Regions from separate parts of the Homo sapiens genome. Here regions 2, 3, 4, 5 and 6 are each linked to region 1. The links are contacts of gene promoters, found by promoter capture Hi-C in blood cells and fetal thymus (Javierre and others, 2016). All regions are on one chromosome and are shown on one strand. Each heading gives the region's core, a stretch centred on a gene start or on the middle of the fragment in contact. The rest is flanking DNA. Distances are from core to core; before and after follow the strand shown.

The links. Contacts are between HindIII fragments. The CHiCAGO score rates a contact against its expected background, and 5 or more counts as called.
Region 2: a fragment that was not itself captured here is called in contact with the fragment with the promoter of DRC11 in region 1 in 2 of 17 cell types (M2 macrophages and M1 macrophages); the score reaches 6.9 in M2 macrophages.
Region 3: a contact is called between a fragment that was not itself captured here and the fragment with the promoter of DRC11 in region 1, in 6 of 17 cell types (M2 macrophages, M1 macrophages, monocytes and 3 more). The highest score is 19.9, in M2 macrophages.
Region 4: a contact is called between a fragment that was not itself captured here and the fragment with the promoter of DRC11 in region 1, in 1 of 17 cell types (M2 macrophages). The highest score is 6.8, in M2 macrophages.
Region 5: a fragment that was not itself captured here is called in contact with the fragment with the promoter of DRC11 in region 1 in 3 of 17 cell types (M1 macrophages, M0 macrophages and M2 macrophages); the score reaches 6.2 in M1 macrophages.
Region 6: a contact is called between a fragment that was not itself captured here and the fragment with the promoter of DRC11 in region 1, in 1 of 17 cell types (M2 macrophages). The highest score is 5.6, in M2 macrophages.

The regions. Positions count from the first base shown.
Region 1 is chr2:236,506,038-236,509,221 of GRCh38, reverse strand. It overlaps DRC11 (dynein regulatory complex subunit 11), which reads left to right and starts at 1,746. Exons shown (of 19, transcript NM_024726.5): 1 at 1,746-1,965. The coding sequence starts at 1,955. RefSeq lists a silencer at 1,571-1,620. The HindIII fragment of the contact is 24,475 bases long and covers 1-3,184 here.
Region 2 is chr2:236,951,166-236,954,357 of GRCh38, reverse strand. It overlaps COPS8-DT (COPS8 divergent transcript), which reads left to right. Exons shown (of 3, transcript NR_187934.1): 2 at 375-1,737. Among named protein-coding and RNA genes, the nearest start is that of COPS8-DT, 130 kb to the left of the region's middle. The HindIII fragment of the contact is 181 bases long and covers 1,507-1,687 here.
Region 3 is chr2:237,017,775-237,020,832 of GRCh38, reverse strand. All of the region lies in intron 1 of COPS8-DT (COPS8 divergent transcript), which reads left to right. Among named protein-coding and RNA genes, the nearest start is that of COPS8-DT, 67 kb to the left of the region's middle. The HindIII fragment of the contact is 4,861 bases long and covers 1-3,058 here.
Region 4 is chr2:236,910,393-236,913,937 of GRCh38, reverse strand. It overlaps COPS8-DT (COPS8 divergent transcript), which reads left to right. Exons shown (of 3, transcript NR_187934.1): 3 at 2,763-3,167. Among named protein-coding and RNA genes, the nearest start is that of COPS8-DT, 170 kb to the left of the region's middle. The HindIII fragment of the contact is 2,705 bases long and covers 374-3,078 here.
Region 5 is chr2:236,990,450-236,993,874 of GRCh38, reverse strand. All of the region lies in intron 1 of COPS8-DT (COPS8 divergent transcript), which reads left to right. Among named protein-coding and RNA genes, the nearest start is that of COPS8-DT, 94 kb to the left of the region's middle. The HindIII fragment of the contact is 1,417 bases long and covers 818-2,234 here.
Region 6 is chr2:236,929,525-236,932,626 of GRCh38, reverse strand. The region is part of intron 2 of COPS8-DT (COPS8 divergent transcript); the gene reads left to right. Among named protein-coding and RNA genes, the nearest start is that of COPS8-DT, 150 kb to the left of the region's middle. The HindIII fragment of the contact is 2,380 bases long and covers 298-2,677 here.

The sequences.
Region 1 (3,184 bases), core at 497-2,996:
CTTGAACCCGGGAGGTGGAGGTTGCCGTGAGCCGAGATCACACACTGCACTCCAGCCTGGGTGACAGGGGGAGACTCCATCTCAAAACAAACAAACAAAAAAGATTTTTCTGCTTTTATTTATTTGGTTAGATTTTCTCCAGACTTTCTTTCACTTGTCTGGCCTATGTTATAATCCTTTCTTTTCTTCTACTTTTATGAAAGTCTTGGTTTTAGACAGTGGATATGCTGCTTCTTTCTGTCTTATTCCTATTTAACACGTGTTGCTCTTTGAAAATGTTCTGTTTGTTCAAATATAATGTGGGCGAATTCTCTTTGACTGTCTTCTCACTGTATCTGAGTTCCAGAGCTGAGATACTGCACTTTTCTCTGCTTTTCTGGAACCTGAGTACACATTTAGGATAAGGACTGCTCCCTTGAATCCACACAACTTCCAGGCTCTGTGCTCTCTTCTGAGATTTTGATAAGCTCCTTTACCACCATCCTCCCACTCTTGTCACGAGTGTGCCCTATTCCTGTGACAACATGCCCTTTGACTTTGAATCTTTGCCTCAATTCAATGTAGGGACCTAGAAAAAGGCAAGCCCTGGAGATTTCTCCTGTCCCTGCTCAGGTCCTGGGAGCGGTAGGGATTGACCTCCACTCAGGATGGTTTTATCTGGCCGGATTTCCCCAGGTGTTTCCTCGTTCGGCTCACCCTTTCATACCCCTTCTTTTCAGTGTGTGTATTCTTTGCATCAAAAAGCATTAATGAGAATTCTTGGTGTTGTGTCTACTTGGTCTCTGCCCCCTGAAGGGCTTTGGGAGGGTGGAGATGAGGCTGGACACCATTCTCCACGGCAAGCTGCTATTTCACTGAGTTTTTGAAGTTTACGGTACAAGGTTGTACTCAATTTCTCGTCTGAGAAATAATTTGCTCCATTATTTGAAGGCGGTGCGGAGGGCTGGCTTTTACTATGCTTTTGCGCATTTCATTAGTAATGGTGGGGGAGAGGTTTTGTGATCCTGATTATAATTTTTACCTGGATGTCCTCTCCACGCCTTTGACAGCATTAAACCTGGCGTTCCAATAGGAGCTGCAGGGTCTAAAATGTGCAAATAAACCTCAACAGTTACTAAAGTCGAAGAAAGAAGAGCAATGAAAGCCAACACTCATAGCGACTTACGGATAACTGTTAATAGCATCCACACTGCATTTTACATTTACAACGCACCCGCGCCTTAGTTCATACTCATTAAGTCTCCGAAGGGCGCGTCTGCCTAAGTCTTGGGTGCCCAGAATCTAAGTCTGCACTTGGCCCAGAATAGATGCCCAGTAAAGTTCTGAACGAACGACTGTTATACCCAGTTTACAGATGGGAAAACTGAAGACCACCATCATTAAGGGCCTTGCCCAAGGCCGCAGAGCTGACAGTGGATGAAAATGGGGCCAGCAGGAAAGCGGGAAGACGGCCTGGAGGACCACAGGCTAAGTGCTGGGGCCCGGAGCAGGCTCGCCAAGCGGCCGGGCCCCGCGACGGAGCGCTCGGACTCCGACCGGCTCCCACAGCTGCGCCCACCCAGGCCTCCCGCGGTGGCGCAGGCGCGGAATGCGGGGGGCGGGGGGGGGGAGGGGGCAGGCGGAAGGCAATGCGCAGGCGCGGCGTTTCCGTTGCTAGGGCCGCGTCGCGCCCACCTGAGTGGCCGAAGTGAGGTTCGCGAGTCTCTGGGTCGCGACGGGAAGGAGTGAAACACCTCTCTGCGCCTGCGCGCTCCGTGCCTGCGAAGCAAACCCGGCCTCACCTTTTCCTGCCCGAAGCAGAAGATTCTCGCAGTCCTGGTTTCTCCCTCCAGAAGACCCCCCACCCAAATCCTCTGTAGCTCCTGGTAGTGCCCTGACCCCTGCTGCCACCGTCCTTCAGAGAGCAACGGAAGAGCTTCCCGGAGGGCGAGGAAAAGAGGGAAAGTAGCCAGCAATGTCGAACGCGTAAGTGATGGGCTCCCAGCCACAGCCATGGAGTGGGCTTCCCCAAGCCAGAAGGTGGCTTGCTTTCTGCTTCTCTTATTTTCTTTTTTCTTTTCTTTTCTCCTCCCCTCTCAACTTCCCTCCTCTCCCCCACTTTTTTTCCTTTTAGGAAATTCAAATATGCCTCGGGATAGAGTATCTGCTTCTTGTGAGCAAGGAAAATCATACACTTAGATCTCCCCCTCCCCTACGCGTCCCACCACCCCATGGGGATGAGCTCCCAGTCTTCCGTATACCTGCCAAGCCCTTAGGGGCTATTGCTGAGAAGCACTATGCCATTTTGTCTGCTTTTTTTGTTAATCTTTCACGGTAACAAATACGGTGCTTTGTGGAAACACCTAGGTCCTGAAATTTAAGTCTAGAAAGATCTTGGGAAAGCATTATTGACATTTGCTTTTCACAGACTCGAGTGGCATTGGTACTGAAAGAAGTGTGTGCCTAGCACTGTGTCGTTTACACAGCACTTGCACAAAGTTACCTCATTTGGTCTTCGTAAGAATAATTTCCAACAGGTATTACAGCGCTGACCCTGTAGACACTGTTCTAACCGCTTCACAGCAACCCTGTAACGTAGGGGCTGTTAATATTGTTATTTCCATTTTACAGATGAGGGAACTTGGGGATGAAGAGGTGAAGTAGTTCACACAGCAAGTGAACAGTGCCAAGCCGGGCACTGTAGCTCCAGCCTGCACTGTTGCTATTACGTGCCCTGTATTCTAGGCAAGGAAATAAGAGCAGAGAGGTTAAAGGCTTGCCAGGGTTTGGAAATGGGGAAGATCAAGAGTTCTGTTTAAGACGTATTGAGTTGGAAGTGCCCATTGGACATCACGTGGAGATGAAATAGGCAATTAAAATATTCAGATCTTGGGTTCAGGAGCGAGACCCATGTCTGAAATATAAACTTGCTCACTGTCAGCCTGTGATGGTCTTTGTGAGACATAGAATGAATATTAATAAAGAGGTGTAAGGACTGATCCTGGGATCATCCACAGTAAGGCTGGGGGAAGAGGAGACCTGGCAAAGGAATCAAAGACATGATCCATGAGGAAGAAGCGAGTGGAAGAAATAATAGTGTTTCCAGGAGAAGTAACTTCTTTCTCCTCCATCAAGTGCTCCTGAGACAAGTTGGGGTAGAACTGAGAACTGACTGTTGATTTGGCAGTGTGGAGTTCACCAGTGA
Region 2 (3,192 bases), core at 348-2,847, 450 kb before region 1:
CCATCCCAACCTCCTTGTGTCAATTCAGCAGCTGTGGAGTTTTGGGAAGAGCAACTCCATCCCCAATTCCTTGACTGGACAAGCCTATTCCCAGTACAGTGGATAGGGCAGGTCAATTAGGCCTTGGCTAATCAGAGCCTGCCTTTCTCTGGGATATGGGGTTGGTTCAGGAGTGTTCCAATTGACTCAAATCTTATGGAGGTGAATGAGGACACGTGTAGACTTGGTGACTGCTGCCATCTTCCAATCGTGGATGTCGGAGGTGGCAAGTACAGAGAGATGGGCAGGGCTGAGAAAATGGCAAAGAAATAGAGACAGAGTTAAGATCAAATATTGCCTAAATGTCACACCCATCTCTGTTTTCTTTTTTTTAGGTGCCATGATAAATAAGCCAGTTTGAGTCACTTGGTCTAATATCGAGACCACGAACATATTGATCACAGAATGTGTTAGGTAAGCATGTTGTTGACTGAAGTGTAAGTAAGGTGCTCACCTTAAATGCATGTGCCAACATCAGCATCTTCAGAAGAGTCTCTTTCCCTTTGGGACATCGAGGTGACTGACAGTTAAACAAGCCGTATTTGGAGTAGGTGTACAATCAGCCTCCTTCCAGTTCTCCTTGGCACTTTCCAGTTCACAAAGGACACTTCACTCCTTTTTGGTTTTTTTGAGACAGGGTCTCACTCTGTCACCCAGGCTAGAGTACGGTGGTGAGATCACCCCTCACTGCAACCTCCGTCTCCTGGGCTCAAGTGATCCTCCCACCTCAGCCTCCCAAGTAGCTGGTACCACAGGTGCATGCCACCACACCTGGCTGATTTTTGTATTTTGTGTAGAAGGGGGTATTGCCCTATCGCCTAGGCTGGAAGGCTGTTAAGAGGAGAACTGAGCAATGAGGATCCCATCCTGGACTTCGCAGACTTGCTGTGCTTTTGAATGCTTCTCTCACGGTCAGAGCCTGCACTGGAAAAGATGGCATTTGGGACAACACACCTGGCTGCTGCCCCAGGAAGAAAGTAGTGAACACTGGAGGACTGTCAGCCCTGTCAGTTTCTGGAAATGTGCCCTGAGTTTAAGTTCTGGTTTCAGATTATGAGGAGCAAAATTACTGAGTAGGCCTCCTCCTAGAACAGGAAGCTCTTCCCGCTGTGGGCCAGTGGCTCTGACATATCACAGAGCCTGCTCTGATGAAGGCAGCAGGAATGATTTCAAAACAAGCAAAACCAAAGAAAACTGTTTGACAATGGAAGTAATAGAGGCTCATTTTAGAAAACATAGACATAAAGAAAAAAAGAAGAATCTTCCATAACCCACAGATTATAACTACTTACATACCTTCCAGGCTTTATTTCTCTTTTTTAAAAAACAAATGTTAAAGTGGAATTTACCTATAAAAAAGATACAGGTCCTAAGAGCACAGCTTGGCTTGATCAATTTTCTCAAGTTGAATGCACCTGTGCAATCAGTGCCAGGCTGAACACACAGCCTCAGCAGCGCCTGGAAGCTTTTCCAAGCCTCCTTATTGTCATCCCTCCCTCCCCAGGGGTAGCTGCGATCACTGTAGCTTTGGTCTGAACTATATATAAATGCAATCATGCCACGTTATGTTTCTGAGACTCACCCACACCCTGGCAAGCCATTGCAGTTTGTTTATTCTCAATGTTCTACAAGCAGCAGTCCCCAAGCTTTTTGGCACCGGGGACCAGTCTCATGGAGGACGATTTTTCCGCAGACCAGGTGGGGATGGTTTTGGAATGATTCAAGCACATTCCATTTATTGTGCACTTTATTTCTATTACTGTTGCATTGTAATATATAATGAAATAATTATATAACTCACCATAATGTAGAATCAGTGGGAACCCTGAGCTTGTTTTCCCCCATCTAGATGGTTTCATCTAGGGGTGGGGGGATGAAAGACAGTGACAGATTATCAGGTATTAGATTCTCATAAGAAGCTTGCAACCTGGATTCTTCGCATGCTTAGTTCACAGTAGGGTTCACGCTCCTATGAGAATCTAATGCTGCCACAGAACTGACAGGAGGCAGAGCTCAGATGGTAATGCTCACTTGCCCACTGCTCACCTCCTGCTGTGCAGCCCTGTTCCTTACAGGCCATGGACTGGTACCACACAACTATTTGGCCATAGCTACAAAAGCTGATTACAGGTGTAATTACAGATTACATCACTATTACATAGCCTACAAAGAGGTTTAATTGGACTTATAAGTCCACATGACTAGGGAAGCTTCACAATCATGGCGGAAGGCAAGGAGGAGCAAGTCACATCTTACATGGAGGGCAGCAGGCAAAGAGAGAGCTTGTGCAGGGAGACTCATTTTTCAAAACCATCAGATCTTGTGAGACTTATTCACTATCATAAGAACAGTGTGGGAATTACAAATTACATAGCTATGTAGTTACAAATTACATAGCTAATTACACCTGTAATCAACTTTTGTAGCTATGGCCAAATAGTTTTCCCAAGTGGTTGCACCAATTTACACTCCCACCAACAGTACATGATCCTGCTGGCAGCTCAATCTACATTCTTATTAACTGCATTAGTCCATTTTCACGTTGCTGATAAAGACATACCTGAGACTGGGCAATTTACAAAAGAAAGAGGTTTAATTGGACTCACAGTGTGTGACTGGGGAAGCCTCACAATCATGGTGGAAGGCAAGGAGGAGCAAGTCACGTCTTATGTGGATGGCAGCAGGCAAAGAGAGAGCTTGTGCAGGGAGACTACCATTTTTCAAAACCATCAGATCTTGTGAGACTTATTCACTCTCATGGAACAGCATGGGAAAGACCTGCCCCCACAATTCAATTACCTCGCACCAGGTACCTCCCACAACACATGGGAATTCAAGATGAGATTTGGGTGGGGACACAGCCAAACCATATCATCGACCCTTTGTTTTTCCCCATCTTTTTCATTTTAGCCATTCTTTTCATGTGTATTAGACATTTGGATAGCCTCATTTGTGAAATGTCTCATTTTTTCTACTAGGCTTTTCATCTCTTTATTGATCTAAAACATTTTTAATATATTAGACATATGTATTGCAAATCTCTTCTTCTACTGTGGAAGTGGCTTTCATTTCTATTCATTTCAGACTGTTTTAATGCTATCTTATTTCTTTCTTTATGATTCAGCACTCTTTGTGTCCTGCTTAAGAACTCTT
Region 3 (3,058 bases), core at 335-2,834, 510 kb before region 1:
GAAACCTCGTCTCTACTAAAAAATACAAAAATTAGCCGGGCATGGTAGTGGGCACCTGTAATCCCAGCTACTCGGGAGGCTGAGGCAGAGAATTACTTGAACCTGGGAGGTGGAGGTTGCAGTGAGCCGAGATCACGCCACTGCTCTCCAGCCTGGGCGACAGAGTGAGACTCCATCTCAAAAAAAAAAAAAAAAAGAAAAAGAAAAAAACCTACAATATGATTTTTAATGTGAGATCCCACCATAGAGGATAAATTAATTGGAAAAAATTCATTCATATGAGCCACCCTGATCTATGCTTCAGGGATATCTCTATACGTGCCTAAGGCCTAAATAACACAATGCACTTTTAGACATCAAAGTCTGAGAAAAAAAAAATGGTGTGTGGAGCCCACAAGATATCAACTACCAAGTTTCTAATTTACAGAGCAGCCTGAAAGGATCAGAGAACATTCTGTAACCATGTCTGAAGTGACCACTGTAAAGTTCTTCAAGCTATGGAAAATATTGAAGTCAAATATTTACAGTACTGAAGGGCCCACATGCAATGGAAAATAACCCCCAAATTAAGAACATCTGGGGGAAAAGTCTAACGAGAGCCAAGCAATGAAAGCAGCAATAAAGATGCAGAATGCATTCGTGGAAGGCTCATGAAGAAGGGAGCCTTTTTTTCTTTTTCTTTTTCTTTTTTGTTCTGTTTTTTAGGTAATGAGGCTACCTTCCTGTGGTGAGCTTCAGGGAAGTGATTTGATTCTGTCTGACTGAGTTTACAAGCTGCCAAACGAAAAAATTGCTACTTCCCATTTCATGAAATACAGTAATTACTGATGTATAGAACTTGTAGACGATCTTAGACATTAAAACACTGGAGAAGTAAAACATATGCATATATAATTATCTAGGATCAATCAATTGAGGAATGTTTTATCTGGGTTATAGAAAAACAAGAAAGGGAGACAATTTAAAGAGAAGAAGAAAAATATTGGCTTTGCTGTAGTCAAGTCCTGGATCCATGTGTTACTTATCATTATTTTAGGCCAGTTGCCTAAACCTCTCCCAGCCTCAGTTTGCACATCTTTAAAATGGGACTCTGATAAAGATTAATTGACAGAATTGCCAGGCATCGTGGCTCATGCCTGTAATCCCAGCACTTTGGGAGGTCAAGGCGGGTGGATCACTTGAAGCCAGGGGTTTGAGACCAGCCTGGTCAACGTGGTGAAATCTCATCTCTACTAATATTCAAAAATCAGCCAGGCTTGGTGGCTCATGCCTGTAATCCCAGTACTTTGGGAGGCCATGGCAGGTGGATCACTTGAGTCCAGGGGTTTGAAACCAGCCTGGTCAACACGGGTGAAATCTCATCTCTACTAATATACAAAGATTCGCCAGGCTTGGTGGAACGTGCCTGTAACCCAGCTACTCTGGAGGCTGAAGCATAAGAATCGCTTGAACTTGGGAGGTGGAGGTTTCAGTGAGCAGAGATTGCACCACTGCTCTCCAGCCTGGGTGACAGAGCAAGACTGTCAAAAAAAAAAAAAAAAAGATTCATTGACAGAATGCAGATGAGGCACACAGCCTATAGAAAGTGCAGACCACCTGGTGTTTGCCATTACTATTATTGTCATTGTGTTGTTGTTATTGTTGTAAGTGTTGTTATTACATTTTTACTTAGGGAAGCAAGGTGTCAGAAGGAGGTTAAGATTCTATCAAACAATAGTGGCCTAATGAAAAGGACTTATAAATTTTTAAGGGTTGAAACTCTCTTGGAAGCCACATAAAATAATGGGGTGAAGTATTTTTTTTCCTTTGATGAGAACAGTTGCATGAATGCACAGGAATGCCCCTGGGGTATGTTAAGATGCTCTCATGTTGAATGTACTTGGGGGGGGGGGCGGGGAAATTAATAAAACCCAATATGAATGAACAAGGCCTCACTCCCCAAGTTTCCTCTAATCTGATATTTATAATAGGACATCATACAAGGGTAGATTCTCACAGCTGCTGTCTAGCTTAATACAAATGGTTTTGAAGTCTTGGATGCCCTTGGATGTGTGTTATTTATACTGTGCATGGTATACTCATTTAGCATTTCCACCTTGAAAACCTCCTGTTACTTAGGCATCGAGAAAACTTTGAAGTTAAGAAAGTTATAAACTTCAAAAGATTGTTATTGGTTGAGTGTACAGGATTATGGTAGGGAATCAGAAGAGGACAAAAGAATCCAGTGGTATTCAAATCATGTTAGAGACCGTTTGATGTCTGCCTGCTGTTTAGGGGCTCAATAGCAAATTGCAAAGAGCTCCTAATCATAGGTATGGTCTAAGTGCCTATTAGAATGCCTTGAGCAGTTAACAGTAGCAGCAAAAGTCTATTAAAAAAAAAAGTCAGAAACATCCAAATTTGTTGTTGGTCAAACAGGTTGGCTTAGTTACTGGCATTGTCAATGACACCAGTGGCTAAAAAACCATGATATATAATGATACGATAGAATACATATAATCATCCTTTCAGAACTGCAAGGGATGGAAGGAGATACCATGTCTGTTCAATGCCTGATGCAAAGCTAATGACTAATTCAAGTTCTTTTTGTTTTTCCTCTTCTTCCCTTCCCAGAAAACCAAATAAGTGTCCCAGTGACATTTTGCCACGGATGTTCCCACTGTTGGAATTACTGTCAACGATACGTGTTTAGTGGGTGAGGACCCAGTTTTCTTCCTGACCTGTAGGAGGGATGGAGGAAGATGGCTCTGGGTGCGGGCAGACATGTGATGGTCAAACCCTGAGGAGGAGGAACTTTCTATGCCTGGGACTGCATCAAAGCCCCTGAGTTACCAGTGATTGTGCATTCCTCTGGAATCCCTCTTTTTTCTGAACCCCAGGTCTTAGAATGGCTGCTCATAATCTAGAACAGGGTGGGACAATCAATAGCACATTTGCACCTCATAGGCCTGAAGATGTAAGTTCAGGGCCCCGTGTTGAGAAGAATCGTAAAGCTCAGTTGGAAAGCAAGCCATGATCAATTAGTGATGCCATTTAGAACTGGGTTTTCATCCACTAA
Region 4 (3,545 bases), core at 477-2,976, 400 kb before region 1:
GGGACATGGGTGTGTACAGGAGTCTGGGTGGGCTTCTTGACTCTGTTTGTTGGGCTGTCTTGCCTGGAGGCTCTTTCCTTCTACAAGCCAGCTCCTGCCACAGAGACCCACCCTGGTTCTAGCTTCCCTTCAGTGAGTCTGATTCCTGGGCTCTGATAACTGCCTCCTTCCTTGTGCATCTGAGAGGTGGTAGCCACTTCCTGATGCTGTGGACACCAGGGTTGCCTCAATGTCCCTTGTCTGACGTTTTGGCTCTTCTACCATCTAGGAAGTCCCTGTAATTAAATTTTCTGTCTTATAAAACTTAGGATGACTGTTTATCCTCACTGGGTCCTGACTTAGTCACTTACTACTGTGTGGTTGTGGTCAAGCTTCTTTCTCCTGCTATGTTCAGTTTCCTCATCTGGAAAGCGGGATAATAATGGGTTCTTCCTTAGAGAACTCACCCCAGAGTGAGTTAAATAAGATAATACTCAGAGTTTGTTACTTGGAACTCACACAGTAAGTGGTAGATTTTGGAGTCTGTACCAGAGGGTCCTGAGGTGTGGGCTGAGGGTGATCTTTGGTGGTGCCTGTTCACTGGATTCAACAACTGCCAATCACAGAGTGAGGAAGTTGTTCACTTTTCAGGTGGTTCTGTTTTTTTCTGTCTCTCTTCTTCTGGATACAATAAAAGCTGCTCTCTGTTCCTAGTATGTCTTTAGAACTTGGAGTCTCCATGACCACGGGAGAAAGAGCAGGTCTCAGACTGAGGAAGTAGGACCCAACAGCATTGTTCTGTTTACATGGAATTTGCTTTTACAGCCAAATTCTACTGATGGCAAATGATACAGTTTTCCATTTCTGGAGGTGATAAAAAGTTTTTTTAATAATGAATTCATTTAAGTTTTTTGTTTTTTTTTAAAAAAAGATCGACTTGGAAAAACAGAAGTAAAAGAGTGCAGTTGGGAGGAGCTTGATGACCTGAGCTTAGAAGGCCTTTCCTGCAGACGTGCTCTGGGGCTAGTGGGTTGAATCAGGACACAGAACAACAAAGACAGTTTCTGCTTTCAAGGAGCGCATGGTTCTCAGCCAAATTCAACAGGAATAATATGACAGAACATAATTAAATAGCAAGTAATTTGTTACAGATGCAAATTCTGCAAAAGTTCAAAGACGCATGGGCCAACGGGGTCAGGAGAAGGCGGGATGGAGGAGGCGACTTAACAGGAGAGATTCCCGGTGGTGGGCACAGGTGCAGAGAAACGGGGACCTGGATTAGGGGAGCAAAGGAGAGCTAGCGTGACGGTGTGGCAAAAATGGGTTTTGAGTTTCTGGAGTAGAGATCCAGGTCGGTGTCAGAGGTGCTGGGGGTTCTGGGAAGGAAAATGATGACAAGTTGACGACAGGAAACGTGGAGTTCTGCATCATTAAGCGTCAGTTTCACGGGATGCTGTAGTCCTGGCAGAATCGTTTTTGGCTGTGGTGTGCAGGAGGGGTCTGCGGCTGAGCCACTGCAGAAGGGCTGGCCAGCTGGGAGGCTGGGAGGCAGATGCTGTAACCCTGGTGTGACCCTGTCCCTGCAGAGAGAGAGCCAGGGAAGGGGCCAGGTGAGCAGGGCCAGGGGGCAGCAGCACCATCATCCAGGGCACTCAGGGGTTAAAGCCTCATCTGGGGACACAGTGAGGAGCTGATCCCGGAAGGAAGAGGCTACGTAGTTCATATCAGACCATGCACACACACACACACACACACACACACACACACACACACACACCAGAGATCCAACTCTTCCTACAGTTTCTCACCAAGAAAGGTCATGGCTGGGTTGAAGAAAGTGAGGCAGGAGTGTTTTCCTTGCAAGGAACATTTGTGTGAAGAGGTCTCTCCCAAGGGTGCTCATATCAGGCAAAAGGTTCTGTCTGTGGGATCCCTGATCCATCTGATCTCCATCCTGCAGGAGCCTTGCTCTTCCTCATGGAGACGCGTTTGCATCTAGAGGGAAAATTGTGAGTAAAAGCCATGACTACAAAATGCACATGTGGATTCCACCGTGGAAAAGTGGGGAGCCCGGGGCCGGGCACAGCATCCGAAATGAAGGTGTGTCACAGGACAGTCGCATGCTCAGGCTGCCTCAACAGAGAAATAGGTGAAGGAGAGCATTTCTCTTTCCACAACTGACAAGAATTCTGTCTTAACGTGGACTGTTTTTGTCGTTGTTGTTGTTGTTTTTTATTTGAGACGGAATCTCACTGCGACACTCAGGCTGGAGTGCAATGGCACGATCTCAGCTCACTGCAACCTCTGCTTCACTTCCCAGGTTCAAGCAATTCTCCTGCCTCAGCCTCCCAAGTAGCTGGGATTACAGGTGTGCACCACCACATCTGGCTAATTTTTGTATTTTTAGTAGAGATGGGGTTTCACCGCATTGACCAGGCTAGTTTCAAACTCCTGATCTCAAGTGATCTGCCCACCTCAGCCTCCCAAAATACTGGAATTACAGGCGTGAGCCACCGCGCCCTGCCTGTTTTCCTTTGTAGTTTTAAATTTGGTAGTCAGGATTTTATATTTTGCTGCAAATGACATGAGAAAATTCAAAGAATCACATAAAATCACGCTCTCCTCTGCCTGCTGTCACTTGCCATCTATCAGTGGCACCAATCTTCAGCGGTGGCCATAACTAAATAGCCCATGCTCCTCAGCGGGGCCACACACGTGCAATGCAGTTACAATGTGTAACACGAATACACAACATTTACAGAACAAATTTTCCTCTTTTCCAGAAACTATAAACATTGAAAGGAATGCTGGGGCCTCCAAAATCTGCGATTACATTTCTCGTAAATGGCAACTCATTGTCATCCTGCAGACATGGATTAAACCACAGGATGGGGTCTGAACCGGGAACACTTGCAGGTTAACAGCAACAACATCCACTCCAACAGAATCACCCCCGTCACAGTGAGCAATGAGCAAAAACATGGCTCAGAAACAGTTTCCCCAGATGTTCAATAAAGGACATTTAAATGAGACATTTACCATCTGGTTAATAACATAGCATTGAGTGGGACTTGGTAACAATATCCCAATACGTAAGCTTTTAAAATCAGTTCTTTTCCCTGAGCATAAAACTGCTTCTCCATCTGCCCTATGAAAACAGGCGATAAATAAATGTTTGTTCAACCTCATTCCTGTCAAAGTCATTGTTCTTTAGGGGGGAAAAATACATATATATATATATATATATATATATATATATATATATATGTATATATGTGTGTGTGTGTATATATATATGTATATATGTGTGTGTATATATATGTATATATTTGTGTGTGTGTATATATATGTATATATTTGTGTGTGTGTGTGTGTGTATATATATATATGTGTATATATATGTATATATATGTGTATATATATATGTATATATATATGTGTATATATATATGTATATATATATGTGTATATATATATGTATATATATATGTGTGTATATATATGTATATATATATGTGTATATATATATGTATATATATATGTGTATATATATATATGTATATATA
Region 5 (3,425 bases), core at 277-2,776, 480 kb before region 1:
ATGTGTATGAATGGAGAGTACCTAGGTGATGCTGGTGGGGTGCTGGCAGCATCCATTAAACAGCTGTGCCTCCACTCTTCTCGCTATCCTCTGCTACTGCTTATCATTTCACATCTTTGTTAAATTAATGCTTGTATATATTTTTTAATTTTTAAAGATACTTTTATGTTGCTCAGGCTGGTCTCAAACTCCTGACTTCAAGTGATCCTCCTGTCTCAGCCTCCCAAAATGCTGGAATTACAGGCATGAGCCACTGCACCTGGCCAGTGCCTTGTGTCTTATTTCTGCTAAACTGCTGTGGCTTCACGCTATTACACTTTCCCTCCCTCCTTCCTTCCCCCTACTTTCTCTTTCCTGCCTGCAAACATTTAATGAATGACCACTCATTTCAGGCCCTGGTGATGAAAGATGACTGGACCTTTATGTGCACAGATTCTTCATGACACTGTATTGGCAAGGCTAGGAGACAGGCATGCATGAAATACTGTGGAACATGGAGCTAGTGTCTTCTAGCTTGAAAGTAACTGCCAGGGAACTGGATGAAGTGACTCCTGAAAAGGCAGTGCAAAAATGTGCGTCAAGCTCAGAGCATGCAAGGTGCTGGTTGAAGGTGACGTTTGATTATGACAGCAGGTGACAGGTGGGCTGATGTGTTATGAGGAGTCTCTGCTGCTGCAAGTTCCCATCACTTTCCCAGCAAAGAAGTGAGGAGATGAATGACCTCCGCTGTTGAGGATGGAGGAGGCTACAGTACATGCTCTATTGATGCATTTTCCAGGTGGAATTTGGGTCATAGCGTAAACAGTTTGTGAAAGCTTGAAGGAAGACATATGACAGACGACATGCTCTTCAAACAAAGTAAGGCCACTGTCACCTCTCCTTAAATCCCGTCCTTCCCAGAGAATGTTCCCTGAGTGTCTAATGTGTACATAACATATCATTCAGCCAGATGTTCAAGCCAACCTTTTGTGGACCTCTCTGTCATCCCTTGAACTCAAACTTCACTGTATATGATGAACCCTGGGGAGCCTATTATAATGATATTCCTAGGCCCTGTTCCAAACCTACTGAATCAGAATCTCCGCTGGTGGTCCCAGTACTCTCGAGTTTAGGCACTTCTTATGCAGCCAACTGTGCTTTCTCTGGGTTAGAGGAATGATACACACTCATTCATCCATCTATTTATGTATCTGCCCATCCATCCACCCATCCATTTATCCACCCATCCACCCATCCATCCATTTATCCATCCATCTATCCATCCATCCATCCATTCAACCATTTATCTATCCATTATCCATCCCCATCTGTCCATAAATTCATCCATTCGTCTATCCATTTATTCATTTAAAAATATTCATTGAGGACCTGCTATGTGCAATGCACAGTGCTAGGCAGTGGAGCTACCGAACAAAACAGACAATAACTCCTGCCGTCAGAAATGTCACTTTCTTGGGAGGGAGGCAGAGAAGAAAGTGCCAGATAGGTCAGGTGTGTGGTATGTCAACAGTAGTAAGTGTTATGGGAAACCTAAAGCAGGGGAGAGGGATGTGGAATGTAAAGGGGCAGCTGAAATTTTAACAACAGTGGTTGGAAAAAGTTCCTCTGAGAAGGTGACATTGCATTGAAGACTTAAGGCAAGACAGCCCACCATCAACATGCTCACTGGGGAGAGAATTCCCCACAGAGGGACCAGCTACATCTGGCAAGGCTCTAGAAATAGAGAGAAAGCCAGCACACCTGAGCTGGGTGAGTCAGAGGTGAGGGTTGGGTGTGAGGTCAGAGAGGTAGGGAGAAGCTGAGGCCACTGGGGGACTTTGGGTTTTTCCCTGGTTGAGATGAGAAGCTCTTGGAGGAACTGGAGCCATGGAGTCCCATGATCTGATTCATGCTTTAACAGGATCTCTCGGGCTGCTGTGTTTAGAATAAACAGAAAGGTAGGGAGGTAGATTTAGGTAGCCTGGTTGGGAGGCAACCACAATGAAGTTCTAAGACCAGCAGAGAGTGTTCAATTTTTTTTTTGCTTTAACAAAAGGATTTTCATTCCGAAATGGATGTGACAAATAAGCAATAAAACATACGAAAAATACAAAATATACTCCAGGTAGAAGATGCTGGGTCTATTAGTCCATTCTCATGCTGCTATGAAGAAATACCCAAGACTGGGTAATTTATAAAAGAAAGAGGTTTAATTGACTCACATTTCTGCAGGGCCGGGGAGGCCTCAGGAAGCTTAAAATCATGGTGGAAGGGGAAGCTAACATCCTTCTTCACATGGCGTCAGCAAGAAGGGCAGAGTGAAGTGGGAGAAAATCTCCTTATAAAACCATCAGATCTCTTGAGAACTTACTCACTATCATGAGAAGAGCATGGCAGCTACCACCCCCATGATTCAGTTACCTCCCACCAGGTCCCTACCATGACACATGGGGATTATAGGAACTACAACTCGAGATGAGATTTGGGTAGGGACACAGCCAAACCATACCACTGGGTATCACAAGGCCACCCCAGGCTGACTGTGCACCCTACAATCCTAAGGGCACCGTTGCACACATGTTGGAGCTGTGCATGCAATGGCCCTGCTTGGGCTGGGGAATTAGCAGGAAATGAGGGGAAAGGGCTGGGACTCTGAATATGTTTGGAAGGTAAAGCCAACAGGCTGTCTAGCAAGATCCCTTTCACCGTGGAAACGGAATCATCTTTTGTCATTTACCTCATGTGGGTCCCCTTTGCAGAGCAGGTTCAGGGTAGGACTTTCATTTGGATTCTCAAGAACCAGCAGAAAGTCACCGAGTGCTGCCCTGTTTTTGTCATCAGTCATCAATCTCCCAAAAGCCTAGGGAAGACAATGTGGAGAATGAGCCCAGATGTATCTTTGGAGACAAGGTGCCCATTAATAGAATGTCATATTTAGTCAATGACATTGTAAGAATTTGTAAGTGTTTTCTGAAGGGAAAAACATTTTGTCTTTGATGGATTTTCTGTTTTACAGACATAATTAATCACATGTGTTAAGAAATCAATTTCTTTAATAGCAAAAATAATCTGTTTTGCCAACTGGAAACACCACTTTCATTTAAGAAACACTCTCCACCAGTTGATTGTACTTCTTGGCGCCAGAAGCAAGGATGCTGTCCGTGTGCTCAGATTATAATGATTTACTGAAGAAATATGAAGTTCTCAGACCAGCAGAGAGTGTTCAAATGCTTTTGCTTTAACAAAAGGATTCTCATTCATAAATACATGTCACAAATAAGTAACAAAATACAAATATACAATACACAAAATATACAATTGTATATTTTGTACAAAACAACTGTTTTCTAACTTCTGAGGAATAGACATTTTCTGAAGACTGTTGTGTGATAATCTAGAATCAAAGAATTTGAACTCATAGGCAGATGTTAACCTAGTCCCCTTCC
Region 6 (3,102 bases), core at 238-2,737, 420 kb before region 1:
GGCTACTCTCTTCTTTAAGACTCCTCCCACCCGAGGCTACTCTCTCTTCTTTGAGACTCCCTCCCCGAGGCTACTCTCAGGCTACTTCATGAGCTCTTATATAGGAAGATGCTGCCATCTTGTTTGCCACTTTCCACCCTTTTTCCTTGGTCATTTATTCAGTTGAGTCAATGCCCCATATTCACAGAAAACATTCACACTGGGTGTTTGTCTCCCACTTCGCTCCAAGACTCACCCTTATTCTGGATGATTTGGATGTCCCTTGTCCTTGACCAGATGGCCATTGTTCTTTAAGCTTCTGAACCCATTGGCACGTTCTTTCACTTCACTTTGGACATTTGGTATCAAGGCCCTATTTTGGACATGTCCCTGTAATTTATCTACTTCTAAAATCTTAAATTCCTCTGCCCTAGGAGTTCTCTGACTACAATCTCCCATCATCCCAGCTCTTTCTTTCTCTGGTCCCTTTCCTTCTGTTCGAGACTCAGAAAAATCTCCAAGAAGTTGTTCCTTTGGTCATCTCACAATAGACCTGCTCCCCTCTCTCTCACTTTCACTATTCTGATAATATTCAGCCCAGATTTGGGCTGCCACAACATTCATATTCTTGCACAGATCCTCAAGTCATTCTCTTCTTTGTCTTTGTCCCTCTATTTCTCCCTTCCAGGAAAGCCCAATGATGATTCTCCCTGCTCTACATAGCACTGTGGAGCTTCCAGATTCAACCCATACTTCAGAGCTGCCTGGCCATCCCTCTGTGTGGTCCTTGGTGGCAGCCTCTTCTCATATTCTGCAGAAATCTAGGACAGCTCTCTCAAACTTTTACCCTTTTCCCCAAACTCTGATTTCGTCTCCTTTTGCCCCTCAGTTTGGAAAGGCCATGCTGATATTAACAAAAAGGGACCCTTGGAGTCTCAGAACTCTCTCAACTTTCTTCCTGCTTCTACACATACCTGCATGAACACACAACCTTGCATCCTTGCTTCCTTCTCTCCAGTCACGAAATAATAGTTGACTCCTGAAGGAATTACCCTCTGCACCTGTTCTGGATCTCATTCCTTTCCTGTCTCTAGGGATCTGCACTCATCAGTCATACTCACTCCATCCTCAGTCCACAATCATAACTACTGAGTCTTTTTATTCAGTATTTGAATATTCTCAAGACTCTTTTATCTTTAAAATAATCTGAATTCTTACTTCACCTGTCAATGGATAGACTTGGGCCTTTATATCTTCTTCAAACCTTTACATTCCAATGCTTAACAGTCACACATTCACCCATTTTTCTGTTTATCCATTTAGCCACCTCTCCATTCAAACAAGTAAGTTTTTAATATCTCTACTATGCCTGGAAACAACTGGAAACATGTTTATACAGTAATGTTCATCACAGCATTATTAATTATAATAAAATTAAGCAAACTGCCAGAATGTCTGAAAATGGAATGGTTAAATACAATAGGGTAAAAATCAGATTTTTAAAGGCATTTAATGATACAGGGGAGAATTCAAGCTACAGCAAATAGCAAATGACAAAGCAGGACAGAACAATTTATGCAGTGAAATCCATACTTGTGCTAAAGAGAACATAAACATATAATTAGAAGAAAAGATTCCAAAAAGGTCTTATCTACGATTATGAAAATCTTAATTTTTTTATATACTTTAAGTTCTGGGGTACATGTGCATAACGTGCAGGTTTGTTATATAAGTATACATGTGCCATGGTGGTTTACTGCACCCATCAATCCATCATCTACATTAGGTATTTCTCCTAATGCTATCCCTCCCCTAGCCCCCCACCCCCTGACAGGCCCCAGTGTGTGACATTCCCCTCCCTGTGTCCATGTGATCTCATTGTTCAACTCCCACTTACGAGTGAGAACATGCAGTGTTTGGTCTTCTGTTCTTGTGTTAGTTTGCTGAGAATGGTGGTTTCCAGCTTCATCCATGTCCCTGCAAACAACATGAACTCATCCTTTTTATGGCTGCACAGTATTCCATGGTGTATATATGCCACATTTTCTTTATCCAGTCTATCACTGATGGGCATTTGGGTTGGTTCCAAGTCTTTGCTATTGTGAACAGTGCCACAATAAACATACGTGTGCATGTGTCTTTATAGCAGCATGACTTATAATCCTTTGGGTATATACCCAGTAATGGGATTGCTAGGTTAAATGGTATTTCTAGTTCTAGATCCTTGAGGAATCACCACACTGTCTTACACAATGGTTGAACTAATATACACCCCTACCAACAGTGTAAAAGTGTTCCTGTTTCTCCACATCGTCTCCAGCATCTGTTGCTTACTGACTTTTTAATGATTGCCATTCTAACTGGCATGAGATGGTATCTCATTGTGGTTTTGATTTGCATTTCTCTAATGACCAGTGATGATGAGCAGAAAATCTTAATTGTTTTTAGAAGTTTTAGTTTGAAAACTTCAGTGATCATATATTTATAATGAACAATAAATATTAACTAGTTCTAAATATTGACTGAAAGAAGGTACAGCTTCAGTTGGAAACAACAGTAGTAGTAGCAAACACATATTTACTACACAATGTTTACTATGAGGCAATGCATAGTAAGATTAACTCCTTTAAACCTTATAGCAATCCTGTGGTGTGAGAATCATCAATAGCTCCATCTTAGAGATGAGGAAACTGAAGCTTATAGAGACTACGCACCTGGCTTTTGGTCATGCTGGAGGTGTGACTGTCAGGATCCAGGTCACTGCTCTGTATGTATAATTTTTTGGTATTATATTTGTTCAAAAATATTATATGTAAATATATTTTTTCATGTTGTTAATTATGTTTTTTGGGGTTTTTTGTTTTTGTTTTTTGGCTTTTCTGTTGAGACAGAGTTTTATCCTGTCACCCAGGCTGGAGTGCAGTGGCACGATCTCCACTCACTGCAACCTCCACCTTCAAGGTTCAAGCAATTCTCGTGCCTCAGCCTCCCAAGTAGCTGGGACCACAGGTGCATGCCACCATGCCTGGCTAATTTTTTTTTTTTTTTTTTTTTTTTAGTAGAGATGGGGTTTCACCATGTTGGCTGGGTTGGTCTTGATTTCCTGACCTCAGGTGATCCACC